Regions from separate parts of the Homo sapiens genome. Here regions 1 and 3 are each linked to region 2. The links are contacts of gene promoters, found by promoter capture Hi-C in human tissues and cell types (Jung and others, 2019). All regions are on one chromosome and are shown on one strand. The core of a region is centred on a gene start or on the middle of the fragment in contact, and the rest is flanking DNA. Distances in the headings are between cores, read along the strand shown.

Region 1 (4,956 bases), core at 1,394-3,893, 460 kb before region 2:
ACACCCCATTGAGGAGGTGTGTGGGGGAGGGGCTAGAGAACCCTTTTGTTCAGTGACCCAGGTGATTCGGATGTGTAAGCAGGTGAGGAGATGCCTCCCTCCACTAGCAGCATCCTAACAATAAAGCAAGTCCTTGATAGCACATCACAGAAGCCTGGGGCGCTTCAGTAGGGGCTCTCTCTGAGACACGCAAACCCACCGTGTTTAGATCCCCCGGATCTTTAGCTTCTCTCCAGCTGAAGGCTCTGATGCTCACTGGCCCCAAGCTTCCCACGAAGGCAGACTGCGGTGCCCAGTTCACCCCACCTCTCTCCAGGTCCTGCCTCCCACCCCCAGCCCTGAAGCCATTAGCTCTGGCCTGGTGCCTGCAGACCCTGGCTCATGGAGAGGCAGCATGGTGCAGTGGCTAGGGGCGTGTGTGTGAGATCCACACTCGAGCTGTCTTATAAAGTAGCCGCCAGCCATTTGAGTTACTTTATAACTCGAATCCAAATTCATCAATTAAAAACCCAGCGCCTCAGTCTCACTAGTGAGAAGGAGAAATAAGGGCAGCCCTGGCCTCTGGAAGCTGGCCTGGGCCTCACTCGGGAGTCCTGTTCTCCCGTTCACTCCCTACTCAGACAAGGCCGCTCTGAAACCACAATGAAATGAGACAGAGCGAGGATGCACGTGATTTTGCCCTTGCCCTTTGAAGGCATTGAATCTGGAGTGAGCTCCTGACTCCTCAGACCCTCCCCTAAGTCAGCCATAGACCACATCCTAGAATAAGTCCTCTCTGACACCCCCTCCCTGTGACACCCTGTAGTTCCACATGGACGTGTTCTCCCTCACTGCAGCCAATAATAACTCAGCTTGTTCAACCGCAAGTGCATTCCTGGTGGTCTTTGACTGGGACGACATTGACTAGCTACACTTCAAGTGCTCAGTGGTCACATGTGGCCAGGGGCTACCACGCTGGACAGCATACCCAGAACCATTCTGCCACTGTAGAAAGTTCTGCTGAGTAGCACTGGTCTACATGATCTGACTCCAAATCTTGACTGCAATTAAGCAGCCGTGTGAACAAGGACACCTCCTGTAACCATTCTGAGCTTTGGTTTCCTCGTCTGTAAGATGGGAGTTGTCCTGAGGATTAAATGAGGCAACACATGTTAAGCACCTAACCTTACGCCTACTGTGGTAGTCTTTAAATATGTTCTTACATTCTTTGATTCTCCTCCCTTTAAGAGGTGGAATTTAATTTTTCTCTTCTTGAAGGTGGGCTGAACTTAGTGACTCCCTTCTAATGAATGAAATATTGCAGACATAACAACGCCACTTGCAAAACCAGGTCATAAAAGGCTGGGTGGCTTCTTCCTTTTGTTCTTCTTCACATGCTCAGGGAAAGTCGGCTGCCATGTTGTGAGGACACTCAAGCAGCCCTATGGGGAGGGCCACATGGCGATGAACAAAGGCCCCCAACCGACGGCAAAGTGAGGGAGCCACTGTAGATGTGGATTCTTCTGCCCCTGTTCAACCTGTAGAGGCAGTGGCCCTGGCTGACAGCTGCACTGCAACCTCATGAAAGACTTTGAGCCACAACCACCCAGTAAAGCCATGCTCAGATTCCCAAGACCTCAGAAACTTTGTGAGATAACCAACATTTCTTATTTTAAGCCACTAAGTTTTGGGGTAATTTGTTACACAGCAATAGGTAACTAATACACATGGCATATGAGTGGCACTTAGTTTGTGTTAGCCATGCTAGCCAATGGTCCGTGGAGCTGGCCTACAGGGAAAGAATCCAGATCAGCTCACATAGGCAGCGGGTCTGCCAAGTTGTTCTCCATATGGCAAATGGAGAACTGACCTCTGGTCTTTGATGTCAATCTGTGAGTGTGGTCAGCGGGGTCACTCCAGAGATGAGCCACTGGACTCAAAGCAACAGCCAGGAAATGAGTCGGGGATGACACATCGGGGTTCTGGCTGTCCATGGCCTAGGACAGCTCTCAGGTACAGCCTACCAGGGAGCACCTTGTGAGCCAGAGAGGGTCTTTCCAGCAGAACCTATGGGTCGCCTGGCATCCACACTGTAGCCCTGAGCCTGTAGCAGGCTGCCCAGGGACCCACGGGTGAATTTCCACTTTTCCAGGAGAGGAGCTATGAGGTTGGAAAGGCAGAGGGAAGCCCAGCATGCCCCGGCCTTGGCACCAGCCCTTCCTTAGCTCAGCCCTCCCCTGTCCCCACCAGAGCCACAGGCTGCTTCACCGAGGTGAACCCTTCCTGCTTCCTGGGAACACCACAGTGTCCCCCCAGGAACACACAATGTCCCTGGCACGAAGGACAGTCAGAGAGAGCATGCACCGCCCCACACCACTCAGAGACCCCCATCTCCAGAACCCCCTCCCTGCACAAATGGGCTAGAACCCCAGAGAGAAGAAGAGGGCAACCCAAAGCAAGAAGGCAGCCTGGGACCCCACGGCCCTTCAGCGTGTGACTCAGGGAACATGGTGCATTCATCCCAGAACTGAATGTGCACATCCCTGGTTCTCTCTCCACGTCCCACAGCCAGGGAAGGGAGGGTGACCCTGCCACAAGCACTTAACAAGTTAACCTGAAATGCCCCGTCCCTAGCTCCCCAGACCTCAGGGCCTCCAAAGGGAGTGAGGCAGGGACACCCAGAACCCTTGCAAGGACATTAATTGAATGTTGAACTCTGCACTCAAATGAAGAGGTATGTCACCCCCCACCCACCTTGAATGCACAGTCTAGAGCTCTCTACCATACTCTGCTGGGGCCCCTCCATCTGGTACCTAATGGCTATGAAGAACAGGGGACCCCCTCTTTTTTGAGTAACTGCAAGTAAGCCGTCTACACTGGGTTAACAATATGTATTTATGATACAAAATTGCCAGCGGCTTCTGCATTTTCACACGTGTTTGTTAATGAAAAGTAACCCGGGGGTCAGGTTATTATGTAAATATCCACTGTGGGTGAGGGGGTTGGAGGTGAAGCACCCCATAATGAGGTGCCTCCATCCATCTCTCAGGAGCGCTAATGAATATTGGATCTGGTCATTTGCCCGGCACTCAGGCCTCACTTTACCAAACAGAGGGACGGGAAGGACGTTTGAGCTCAAATGAACCACTTCTCCCTTCATTTCCGCGTGACCCCAGTGAATTTCAACCCTCCCACCTCCTCCCTCCCCATTCCACCATGCTCGGGTGTTCCCGAGCCCACAGAGGCGAGAGACAAGGGACATTGGCTGGAGAAGCTTCTGGCTGTTTATAGTTTGCAGGAATCACAAAAAAACCACCCACCCTGCCTTGCTGCCTCTGACTCAGAAACCATCAACCTGCGCCTCCCCCAGAAAATAAGATGAGTGAGGATAGAGTGGTATCCTGGAGTCCCACTCAGGGTGGGAGGCGTTAACCACGTGGTAGGGGACAGAGGTCCTGCAGTTGACCCAAGGAGGGGCAGCCAGCCTCTTGGCATCTGCAAACAGGAGTAGTGGACTGGACCAGGCTGCCAGGTGAGGCCAGGAGAGGCTGAGCAGCAAAGACCACCCTGTCAGGAAGGCAGACCAGCTGCACACACAGGGTTCCCAACTGCAGGCTGTAGGGAAGAGTCTACCTTGTATTTTTCCAGTGCCCAAGCTGAAGGCTCCAACCAATGCCATCAAAGGCAGGAGGCAGCTGGTCCCAGCAGGCTCAGTCTTCCTGACGGTGGAAGGTCCGCCTGCCCTCCCTCCCAGGGTCTGTGCAAAGCTCATTTAGGGCTCTGAGTAATGGAATGTTGCCACTGGGGTGTCTCTACAAACGAGATACTACATCTCCCAAGACTTCCCTGGGTAAATAAAAGCTAAATATAAATGATGTGACTGTGTCGCACTCCAGCTCTGCCTTTGACTAGAGGGAACATGCTGAAATGGTTGATTAAAAATAAATAAAATTAGGCTCTTCTAGTTCCTCCCAACATAAAGGCAGGGCTTCTCCCTCTGAGCCGCTGAGATAAAGCCGCCCAGCCTGTAGCAGGAGCTCCTGGGGTCCCGGCCATGCGTGGGTTATGGCTGGTTTTATGGCCGCTGTATGATTTACACCCACTTGCAGGCATGTAGCAAACAGATACATTTTTAAGCAGTAATTGTCATGTATATGGGCCCTTGAGTGTCTGGAGAAACGTCTCTCCAGAGGAAGACTGGTGTTCTGTCTCTCCCATCAAGAGCAGGATCGTGAAGAGCAGGTGACTGGGGATAAATTTCAGGGGCTCCCCCTGGGGACCAGGAAGTAGGGACATCAGTAAGCCCAGCCTGGCCTTCCTCTGCCCTTCTTGGAAATGCTGACAAACACCAACACTGGAAACTGCTACTGTCACCCCACTTCCCGCACGGCACCCTCCACAACAGGAAGACCCCCGCTGCAACATACTCCTTTCTCCCAGGCTCTGGGCTCGGGTGGGGAAGGACAAGGTCAGCACCTCACCTTTTCATGCTGCCCTCAGTGCTGGGGTTCCAACGCTCAGGTGGCTGGACCCACCAACAGGATGGAGGCAACCAAAGGAAGCAGCTTGGTCCTTTTTTTTTGAGATGGAGTTTCGTTCTTTTCGCCCAGGCTGGAGTACAATGGTGCAATCTCAGCTCACTGCAGCCTCCACCTCCTGGGTTCAAGCGATTCTCCTGCTTCAGCCTCCCAAGTAGCTGGGATTACAGGGGCCCACAACCACGCCCAGCTGATTTTTGTATTTTTAGTAGAGATGCGGTTTTGCCATTTTGGCCAGGCTGGTCTTGAACTCCTGACCTCAGGTGATCCGCTCGCCTCAGCCTCTCAAAGTGCTGGGATTACAGGTGTGAGCCACTGAACCCGGCCTATTGTTTTCTTTCTCTGGCCTTCTTCAAAGTTCTCCCTCACTCTCATCTCTCATTCTTTCTCTGCTTCCTCCTTTCCCTTCCTTTTTCTCCTCTATTTCAGCTTTTCTCTT
Region 2 (4,897 bases), core at 2,334-4,833:
GAGCAGCTGGGACTACAGGCGCCTGCCACCACACCCGGCTATTTTTTTGTATTTTTTAGTAGAGATGGGGTTTCACCGTGTTAGCCAGGACGGTCTCGATCTCCTGACCTTGTGATCCGCCCGCCTCGGCCTCCCAAAGTGCTGGGATTACAGGCGTGAGCCACCGCGCCTGGCTCTTTTTTCTTTCTTTTTTTTTTTTCCGAGACAGAGTTTCACTCTTGTTGCCCAGGCTGGAGTGCAGTGGCGCAATCTTGGCTCACTGCAACCTCCACCTCCAGGGTTCAAGCGATTCTCCTGCCTCAGCCTCCTGAGTAGCTGGGACTGCAGGCGCGCACCACCACGCCTGGCTAATTTTTGTATTTTTAGTAGAGACAGGGTTTCACCATATTGGCCAGGCTGGTCTCGAACTCCTGACCTTGTGATCTGCCCACCTCAGCCTCCCAAAGTCCTGGGATTACAGGCGTGAGCCACCGTGCCCAGCCTGACCCCTCTGCCCTTTCAAAAACTATGTTCGTTCTCTCACAGCCTTCTCTTGTCATATTAAGTCCACACCGCAGGCCTAATTTGTCCAGTGAATGCTATGCAAATATTTCATGCACCTGCTGATCGCAGGAATGATATGTACTTGGTACGCACTGATCGTACCTCGGGGTGGGAGAAGAGAGGGCAAGGAAGCAAAGAATAGCCCCCTCCTTTCCTGGTGCACCTTCAGATGTGCCGATGGGGCCCAGGCTCGCTGCAGATGGCCCCCTTCCCAGAGACAGGGGAGGATCCTCCACCCACTCCCCAGCCTCCAGGACCATCCTGACTCCTGCCTTCAGGCACTCAAGTTATGCGTCTAGACATGCGGATATATTCAAGCTGGGCACAGCACAGCAGCCCCACCCCAGGCAGCTTGAAATCAGAGCTGGGGTCCAAAGGGACCACACCCCGAGGGACTGTGTGGGGGTCGGGGCACACAGGCCACTGCTTCCCCCCGTCTTTCTCAGCCATTCCTGAAGTCAGCCTCACTCTGCTTCTCAGGGATTTCAAATGTGCAGAGACTCTGGCACTTTTGTAGAAGCCCCTTCTGGTCCTAACTTACACCTGGATGCTGTGGGGCTGCAGCTGCTGCTCGGGCTCGGGAGGATGCTGGGGGCCCGGTGCCCATGAGCTTTTGAAGCTCCTGGAACTCGGTTTTGAGGGTGTTCAGGTCCAGGTGGACACCTGGGCTGTCCTTGTCCATGCATTTGATGACATTGTGTGCAGAAGTGAAAAGGAGTTAGGCCGGGCATGCTGGCTTATGCCTGTAATCCCAGCACTTTGGGAGGCTGAGGCGGGTGGATCACGAGGTCAGGAGTTCAATACCAGCCTGGCCAAGATGGTGAAACCCCGTCTCTACTAAAAATACAAAAAAATTAGCCGGGCATGGTGGCGGGCGCATGTAATCCCAGCTACTGGGGGGGCTGAGGCAGAGAATTGCTGGAACCCAGGAGATGGAGGTTGCAGTGAGCCAAGATTGTGCCACTGCACTGCACTCCAGCCTGGCGACAGAGCAAGACTCTGTCTCAAAAAAAAAAAAAAAAAGTGAAAAGGAGTTGTTCCTTTCCTCCCTCCTGAGGGCAGGCAACTGCTGCGGTTGCCAGTGGAGGTGGTGCGTCCTTGGTCTGTGCCTGGGGGCCACCCCAGCAGAGGCCATGGTGGTGCCAGGGCCCGGTTAGCGAGCCAATCAGCAGGACCCAGGGGCGACCTGCCAAAGTCAACTGGATTTGATAACTGCAGCGAAGTTAAGTTTCCTGATTTTGATGATTGTGTTGTGGTTGTGTAAGAGAATGAAGTATTTCGGGGTAGTATGGTAATGCCTTCAACTTACAAACGGTTCAGGTAAACCACCCATATACATACATATACATGCATGTGATATATACACATACAGGGATGTGTGTGTGTTCACATATATGAGGGGAGAGAGACTAGGGGAGAGAAAGTAGGTTGGGGAGAGGGAGAGAGAAAGGAAAACAGGAGACAGAGAGAGAGCGGGGAGTAGAGAGAGGGAAGGGGTAAGAGAGGGAGAGGAGGAGAGAAAGGGAGGAAGAAGCAGAGAGTGAATGTTAAAGGAAACAGGCAAAACATAAACAGAAAATCTGGGTGAAGGGTATATGAGTATTCTTTGTACTATTCTTGCAATTATCTTTTATTTAAATTGACATCGGGCCGGGCGCAGTGGCTCACATCTGTAATCCCAGCACTTTGGGAGGCCGAGGCAGGCAGATCACTTGAGGTCAGGAGTTTGAGACCAGCCTGGCAAACATGGTGAAACCCCATCTCTACTAAAAATACAAAAATTAGCCTGGTGTGGTGGTGCATGCCTTTAATCTCAGCTACTCGGGAGGCTGAGGCAGGAGAATCGCTTGAACCCGTGGCGGGGAGGAGGTTGCAGTGAGCTGAGATCATGCCACTGCACTCCAGCCTGGGCGATAGAGCGAGACTCAGTTTCAAATAAATAAATAAACATCAAAATAAAAAGTTACTGTATTAAAGAATGGGGGCGGGGTGGGAGGGGTGGGGAGAGGTTGCAAAAATAAATAAATAAATAAATAAACCCCAAAATGAAAAAGACAGTGGAGGCACCAGGCCTGCGTGGGGCTGGAGGGCTAATAAGGCCAGGCCTCTTATCTCTGGCCATAGAACCAGAGAAGTGAGTGGATGTGATGCCCAGCTCCAGAAGTGACTCCAGAACACCCTGTTCCAAAGCAGAGGACACACTGATTTTTTTTTTAATAGGCTGCAGGACTTACTGTTGGTGGGACGCCCTGCTTTGCGAAGGGAAAGGAGGAGTTTGCCCTGAGCACAGGCCCCCACCCTCCACTGGGCTTTCCCCAGCTCCCTTGTCTTCTTATCACGGTAGTGGCCCAGTCCCTGGCCCCTGACTCCAGAAGGTGGCCCTCCTGGAAACCCAGGTCGTGCAGTCAACGATGTACTCGCCGGGACAGCGATGTCTGCTGCACTCCATCCCTCCCCTGTTCATTTGTCCTTCATGCCCGTCTGGAGTAGATGCTTTTTGCAGAGGTGGCACCCTGTAAAGCTCTCCTGTCTGACTTTTTTTTTTTTTTTAGACTGAGTTTTGCTCTTGTTGCCTAGGCTGGAGTGCAATGGCACAATCTCAGCTCACTGCACCCTCTGCCTCCCGGGTTCAAGCGATTCTCCTGCCTCAGCCTCCCGAGTAGTTGGGATTACAGGCATGCACCACCACGCCCAGCTAATTTTTGTATTTTTAGTAGAGACAAGGTTTCACCGTGATGGCCAGGCTGGTCTTGAACTCCAGGACTCAAGTGATGCTCCTGCCTAGGCCTCTCAAAGTGTTGGGATTACAGGCGTGAGCCACTGCACCCGGCCTGCACGCGTTCTTTGAAAGCAGTCGAGGGGGCGCTAGGTGTGGGCAGGGACGAGCTGGCGCGGCGTCGCTGGGTGCACCGCGACCACGGGCAGAGCCACGCGGCGGGAGGACTACAACTCCCGGCACACCCCGCGCCGCCCCGCCTCTACTCCCAGAAGGCCGCGGGGGGTGGACCGCCTAAGAGGGCGTGCGCTCCCGACATGCCCCGCGGCGCGCCATTAACCGCCAGATTTGAATCGCGGGACCCGTTGGCAGAGGTGGCGGCGGCGGCATGGGTGCCCCGACGTTGCCCCCTGCCTGGCAGCCCTTTCTCAAGGACCACCGCATCTCTACATTCAAGAACTGGCCCTTCTTGGAGGGCTGCGCCTGCACCCCGGAGCGGGTGAGACTGCCCGGCCTCCTGGGGTCCCCCACGCCCGCCTTGCCCTGTCCCTAGCGAGGCCACTGTGACTGGGCCTCGGGGGTACAAGCCGCCCTCCCCTCCCCGTCCTGTCCCCAGCGAGGCCACTGTGGCTGGGCCCCTTGGGTCCAGGCCGGCCTCCCCTCCCTGCTTTGTCCCCATCGAGGCCTTTGTGGCTGGGCCTCGGGGTTCCGGGCTGCCACGTCCACTCACGAGCTGTGCTGTCCCTTGCAGATGGCCGAGGCTGGCTTCATCCACTGCCCCACTGAGAACGAGCCAGACTTGGCCCAGTGTTTCTTCTGCTTCAAGGAGCTGGAAGGCTGGGAGCCAGATGACGACCCCATGTAAGTCTTCTCTGGCCAGCCTCGATGGGCTTTGTTTTGAACTGAGTTGTCAAAAGATTTGAGTTGCAAAGACACTTAGTATGGGAGGGTTGCTTTCCACCCTCATTGCTTCTTAAACAGCTGTTGTGAACGGATACCTCTCTATATGCTGGTGCCTTGGTGATGCTTACAACCTAATTAAATCTCATTTGACCAAAATGCCTTGGGGTGGACGTAAGATGCCTGATGCCTTTCATGTTCAACAGAATACATCAGCAGACCCTGTTGTTGTGAACTCCCAGGAACGTCCAAGTGCTTTTTTTGAGATTTTTTAAAAAACAGTTTAATTGAAATATAACCTACACAGCACAAAAATTACCCTTTGAAAGTGTGCACTTCACACTTTCGGAGGCTGAGGCGGGCGGATCACCTGAGGTCAGGAGTTCAAGACCTGCCTGGCCAACTTGGCGAAACCCCGTCTCTACTAAAAATACAAAAATTAGCCGGGCATGGTAGCGCACGCCCGTAATCCCAGCTACTCGGGAGGCTAAGGCAGGAGAATCGCTTGAACCTGGGAGGCGGAGGTTGCAGTGAGCCGAGATTGTGCCAATGCACTCCAGCCTCGGCGACAGAGCGAGACTCCGTCATAAAAATAAAAAATTGAAAAAAAAAAAAGAAAGAAAGCATATACTTCAGTGTTGTTCTGGATTTTTTTCTTCAAGATGCCTAGTTAATGACAATGAAATTCTGTACTCGGATGGTATCTGTCTTTCCACACTGTAATGCCATATTCTTTTC
Region 3 (5,088 bases), core at 494-2,993, 490 kb after region 2:
GGTGTCTGCGTTTCCTTGCTGTTCTATGGTAACTGACAGAGAATTAATCAAGAGAAAAACAAAGGGCACACTGAATTCTGAATATGTGTGTGCAGACACCGGAATATACAGAAAGGAAACGTACCAAAATATGAATCCTGATTATCTCTGGGATAAGTGTTTATGAGAAATTTGTTTTTTATACTTTTCTGTATTTTACCAATTTTCTGCAGTAAAGGTGTATTACCTTTATAGTCAGAAAAAAGCCATTTTTTTTTACATTTTTAAGATCGAGGTAAAATTTACATTTAACAAAATGCACACACCTTAAGTGCACAGTTCAATTTGTTTTGATGAGTGCATATACCCTTGAAGCACCACTCAGATTAATACAGAATATTCCTGCCATCCCTGTAAGTTCCCTATGGCCCTTCCTAGTCAACCCCACCCCACCCCGCCCCAGCAACCACCTCGGAGGCAGCACTGTCATGATTTCGGCTAGCACACTAGCACAGCTTAGTTTGCATGTTCTAGATGCTCACGCATGGAAGCACACGGTGCCCACAGTTTCTTTCACTCATCACAATGTTCGTGAGATTCATCCGTGCTGCTGCACGCTAGCAGTTCATTCCTTCACACTGCTGAGTAATAGTCTATTACCTCGACCTGTTTATCCAGTCACCTGCTGGCAGCCATTCAGGGTATTTCCAGCTTTTGGTTATTTTATATAAGAATGCTATAGATATTCTTGTACAAGTCTTTGTATGGACATGTTTTCATTTCTCTTAAGTAACTAGGAGTTGAATTGCTGATGAAACTGCCAAACTTCTTTCCCAAATGGTTATATTATTTTATTCTCACTAGCACTTGCCAACATGAGGTACCATCAGTCTTTTTAATTCTAGCCATCATAGGGGATGTGAAGTACCGTTTCATGGTGGTTTTAAATTACATCCCCTACAACTAATGATGTTAAGCATTTTTCATGTGTCTACTACACATATGGCTTCTTTTGTAAAGTGTCCAAGTTTTTTGCCCATTTTCTTATTTGGGCTGCCTTTCTATCATATATTCTAGATACAAGTCCTTTTTCAGATATATTTGTTACAAATATTTACTTCTAATCTGTTGCCTGTTCATTTCTTTTAATAGTTTTTAATAGTTTTATCTTTTACAAAAGCGGAAGTTTTAAATTTTTATGAAGTCCAACGTATCCGTTTCATTTAAGCTACGAGTGTTTAAAATGGAAAGAGGGGAAACTAATCCAAAATACCAAATGGACAATACAGAGACTGGCCGTGGTGAGCTGGCTGCCTTCTGTGGAGGACTCAGCCTCACTATACCCTGAAGGCACTGCCCACAGGAGTCTAAAACAACAAATCAAACAGTCCTACGAAGCCAGACAGGAAGACTTAGGCTTAGAAAAATACAGACATGTAGTGAATTGGAAACAGCTCATTTATTGCATTAAGCAGTCAGAAAACGGTCTGGGAACCCCATTCAAAACTAAACTCTCAAAGTCACTAACATTTCATGAAAATAAAAGGAAAAAAAAAAGCAGAGTCCTTGTCCTTTTATACTATCATCGCATTTCTACATTTTCTTCCCTTAAGCATTAGGAAGGTGCAAATAAGCTCACGATTATCCTCAGACATGACTGGACACTCCAGCCCTTTGAAATCGTATCAGCAGCATTCATTAAGCTTTTCCTTTACACAAAGGAAAAACAGAAACTTTAAAATGCACACCGACAGTGGACAACAGAGGGGAGTAATTCACATAAAAATTTAGGAGCAGTTTAAGGCTTTCTGGGACCTTTGAAGTTCTCCAGTTCAATTTTTTTTTTTTTTTTTGAGACGGAGTCTCGCTCTGTCACCAGGCTGGAGTGCAGTGGCGCGATCTCAGCTCACTGCAACCTCCACCTCCCGGGTTCAAGCAATTCTCCTGCCTCAGCCTCCCGAGTAGCTGGGACTACAGGTGTGCACCACCACACCCGTCTAATTTTTGTATTTTGAGTAGAGACAGGGTTTCACCATGTTGGCCAGGATGGTCTCGATCTCTTGACCTCGTGATCCACCTGCCTCGGCCTCCCAAAGTGCTGGGATTACAGCCGTGAGCCACCGCGCCCGGCCTCCAGTTCAATTTTTTAAACACTGGAAGAAGCTCCTATGTTCAGGAGGCCTTGCGGTGAAGGATGGAAGGCAGACATTATGGGTGTGTATGTGCTTGCTAGAATTAGAAAGACACAAAGCTGACTTTTTCCTTCAATGTGCCACGTAAGCATAATTAAGGCCTGGGTGCTTTAAGGAATTACAACCACAGAAGCCACCTGGCAGCAGGGCAGACTCACCTTTCCTCTGTGGATCCCAGGTTTTCAATTTCATTAGCTACTTCTGCTATCTCATCCTTCAGCCTCTATAAAACAGACAGTCCAGAGTCAGCAGGAAAGGCAGATGCAGATCAAATTAAAACTTCTAAAATCTCACATAACTCCCTCCAACCAAAAACAAAATAAAGCAAAATGAAACAAAATATGACAAAAATGCAAAAAGTAAATTAGGAAAATTCATGTTTCAGAAATATTTATTGAGTGCCTACCAAACAGTAAGCATTCCAGAAAACACCAAGGTAGAAAAGAATACAGCCTCTGACCTCAAGGAGTTTACGGTCTAGGAAAGTTTATAAGCATATATGCTGTGTGAAAAACAAAACCTGGCTGCCTCATCACAATCTTTCAGAACAAGTCTGCAGCTTACTAAACACAAGCATGCCAGAAAATTCAGAGGACAAAGTCTCCTACCCAAAGCCCAGGCTGCAGAGCCTGCAGTAGCTGTGCCAGGGCAACAATGCCACCAAGCGGCTGGCAAAGGGAATGTCTGATCAAATCGGCTGTGCATCCGCACCCACCCTCCTCATTCCAGCACACTGTTGGTCAGAATGGATGGGCTCTCACGGGGAAGTGGGGCTTAAGTGGAGAGCTGCTTAGCTTTCTCACGATCTACCAGTGAAGCAGAAATCAAAGGATCAGGGAGAACTATCAAAATATACTTAAATCAACTCCAGAGAAAGTCAAGTCTTTCCTCATTTTGCTACTTTGGGCAACAGGATTCCCTCCTTAACCCCACTCCTAATGTCTTGTGAAGAATTCTGAAAGAATAACATTTGCTGTCTTAGGGCGAAAATAATCCAACTATTGGCTTCTAGACTTATTTCCTACAAGCTTGATAGTTACAAAAAGGAACTTGGAAAAATTGTAATTGTAAAATTGCTATCACTAAGTACATCTATAGGGACCAGAAATTATGCTGTCTTTCATGCTAAGTCCTTCCAACTGTGTAGCAGGTGTTTTCATGATCTGACAGATGAAGAAACTGAAGTTCAAGGAACCGGAACTCTCTTGTCTCAAATCATTCAGCCAGTAAGCGGCAGAGCCAGAGCCAGGGCGTGGGCCGAGCTTCGCCTGAAGCCCACATTCTCATTGCCTCTCCTCATCCACTCTGCTCCGCAAGGGCAAACACAGCAGAGAGGACTACTCAGGAGACAGGAGTCTTGCAGGCTATCTCCAGCTCCGACAACCGACCAACTGGGTGAACCTGGACAAGCCACTCAACCTCTCTGACACTGCATCTCCTCAGCTGTAGAGGAAAGGTGACTGATTATCAACACCTACGCTTTGTGCAGAGCTGTAGTGAGGGCAGGTCAAAAGTGTCTTGAGGAGACACTCTGCAAAGGACACCCTTTCATACAAATGGAACTGTCACTGTGGTTCTTACGTTGGTGAAACCACCATGCCACTCTCCTACCTGAATGTCAGCCAGCAGCTCCTGTTTTCTCCGTCGGATGTTCTCCAGTTCTTGACGCTCCTCTGCTGTCAGGTCACTGGGAACTACAAAAATGGAGGGCAATGTTACAAGAAAGCTTTTATCTCGCCAAAAATCAAGGAAGATCCAGAGGCCACAAAAGGAGAAAGATATCAAGAAAGAAACTAGAAGTCAGTTTCAGAAATGACTGAGTGATAGAAATAGTTATGGCTCCAATTCTTATCAGATTTCTAAGAAAGGAAGGCCCTTAAATCACACAGAAAAGCTCTGAGAAACTCTTGGAAGGAAAAACGAGAGAGAAGAGATTACTGAAGGTTAAATTAGGTTGGCTATGAATGAAAAAGGATGAATATTAGCTGAGCGCCTGGCCATTTTCATCCCTTCCAGCTGGGAGACTTCAGGCTGACATTTAATTAATCTCTCTAGGCCTCAGCTCCCTCATGGTCAAAAACAGAGTCTCCGAGATGGAAAGATGTCCATGACCCCCTGAGGTGGGGAGGGGAGGCAAGAGGCAAAGCAACGTGTACGAACAATTTTGTGCCATCTCTGGGAGGGGTTTGGAGAAAGAGACTATGTATGCACTGAGAAATAAAAAAAGTCTAGAATATACACCTAAAATCAGTGCTTAACTCTGGGAACTGGGACTATGGGACTTTCTCTTTCTGCTTCATACCTTTCTTCATTGTTTCGATGTTTTACAATGTGCTCTTATCATCAGAAGAAAGTTACTTAATTCCCAGATCACAGCTCTCACCACAAAATACTTCTGCCATCCTCCAATGGCTCAATCTCCCCCACCTATACCAACAGGAGATTTGGACAGACACCCTCTAAAATGACCCTTCAAGCATGCTATGGGAAGCCATGTGGGCAAATGAGAAGAACAAGCATTAGAATCAAACAAACCAGGTTCAAATCCTAGCTCCAATCTACCAAATATCAAATTAGGTCACTTCAGACAAGTTATGTAACCCACTTGGGTCACATTTCATCATCAATGAAGTGGTCCCACCATCACCCACTTGATAAGGCTGCTGTGAAGATGATGTAGAGTAATTAAAGTGCCTCAAACCCTGCCTGGTGCTGAGCAGAAGCTCAGAAGTGTTGGCTCTTGTTCCCTCCATGGCACAGCAAAGGGCACCCACACTCTCAAGGGTAGGGGTGGTTTGAGGGTCCTTCTATCCTTCAGTGGGTGCCTATGTGAGCCTGAGCTGCACTGTACAATATGGCGGCCAGGAGCCCCACGTGACATTAACCACTTGAAATGTCACCACCCAGTTTGAGATGT

Evidence for each region. The method cuts DNA at HindIII sites, captures the fragments that hold promoters and counts their contacts. A contact is called where the count stands out against the background at its distance.
Region 1: a fragment that was not itself captured here is called in contact with the fragment with the promoter of BIRC5 in region 2 in 1 of the 25 tissues and cell types used here (dorsolateral prefrontal cortex).
Region 3: a fragment that was not itself captured here is called in contact with the fragment with the promoter of BIRC5 in region 2 in 2 of the 25 tissues and cell types used here (dorsolateral prefrontal cortex and spleen).

Annotation. Positions count from the first base shown.
Region 1 is chr17:77,753,686-77,758,641 of GRCh38, forward strand. No RefSeq gene overlaps it. Among named protein-coding and RNA genes, the nearest start is that of LINC01987, 28 kb to the left of the region's middle. The HindIII fragment of the contact is 7,345 bases long and covers 1-4,956 here.
Region 2 is chr17:78,210,670-78,215,566 of GRCh38, forward strand. It overlaps BIRC5 (baculoviral IAP repeat containing 5), which reads left to right and starts at 3,584. Exons shown (of 4, transcript NM_001168.3): 1 at 3,584-3,758; 2 at 4,011-4,120. The coding sequence starts at 3,648. RefSeq lists a silencer at 1,229-1,432 and an enhancer at 3,329-4,230. The HindIII fragment of the contact is 20,243 bases long and covers 1-4,897 here.
Region 3 is chr17:78,705,868-78,710,955 of GRCh38, forward strand. CYTH1 (cytohesin 1) reads right to left here. Exons shown (of 14, transcript NM_004762.6): 2 at 3,783-3,865; 3 at 2,330-2,394. Among named protein-coding and RNA genes, the nearest start is that of CYTH1, 74 kb to the right of the region's middle. The HindIII fragment of the contact is 3,609 bases long and covers 1-3,548 here.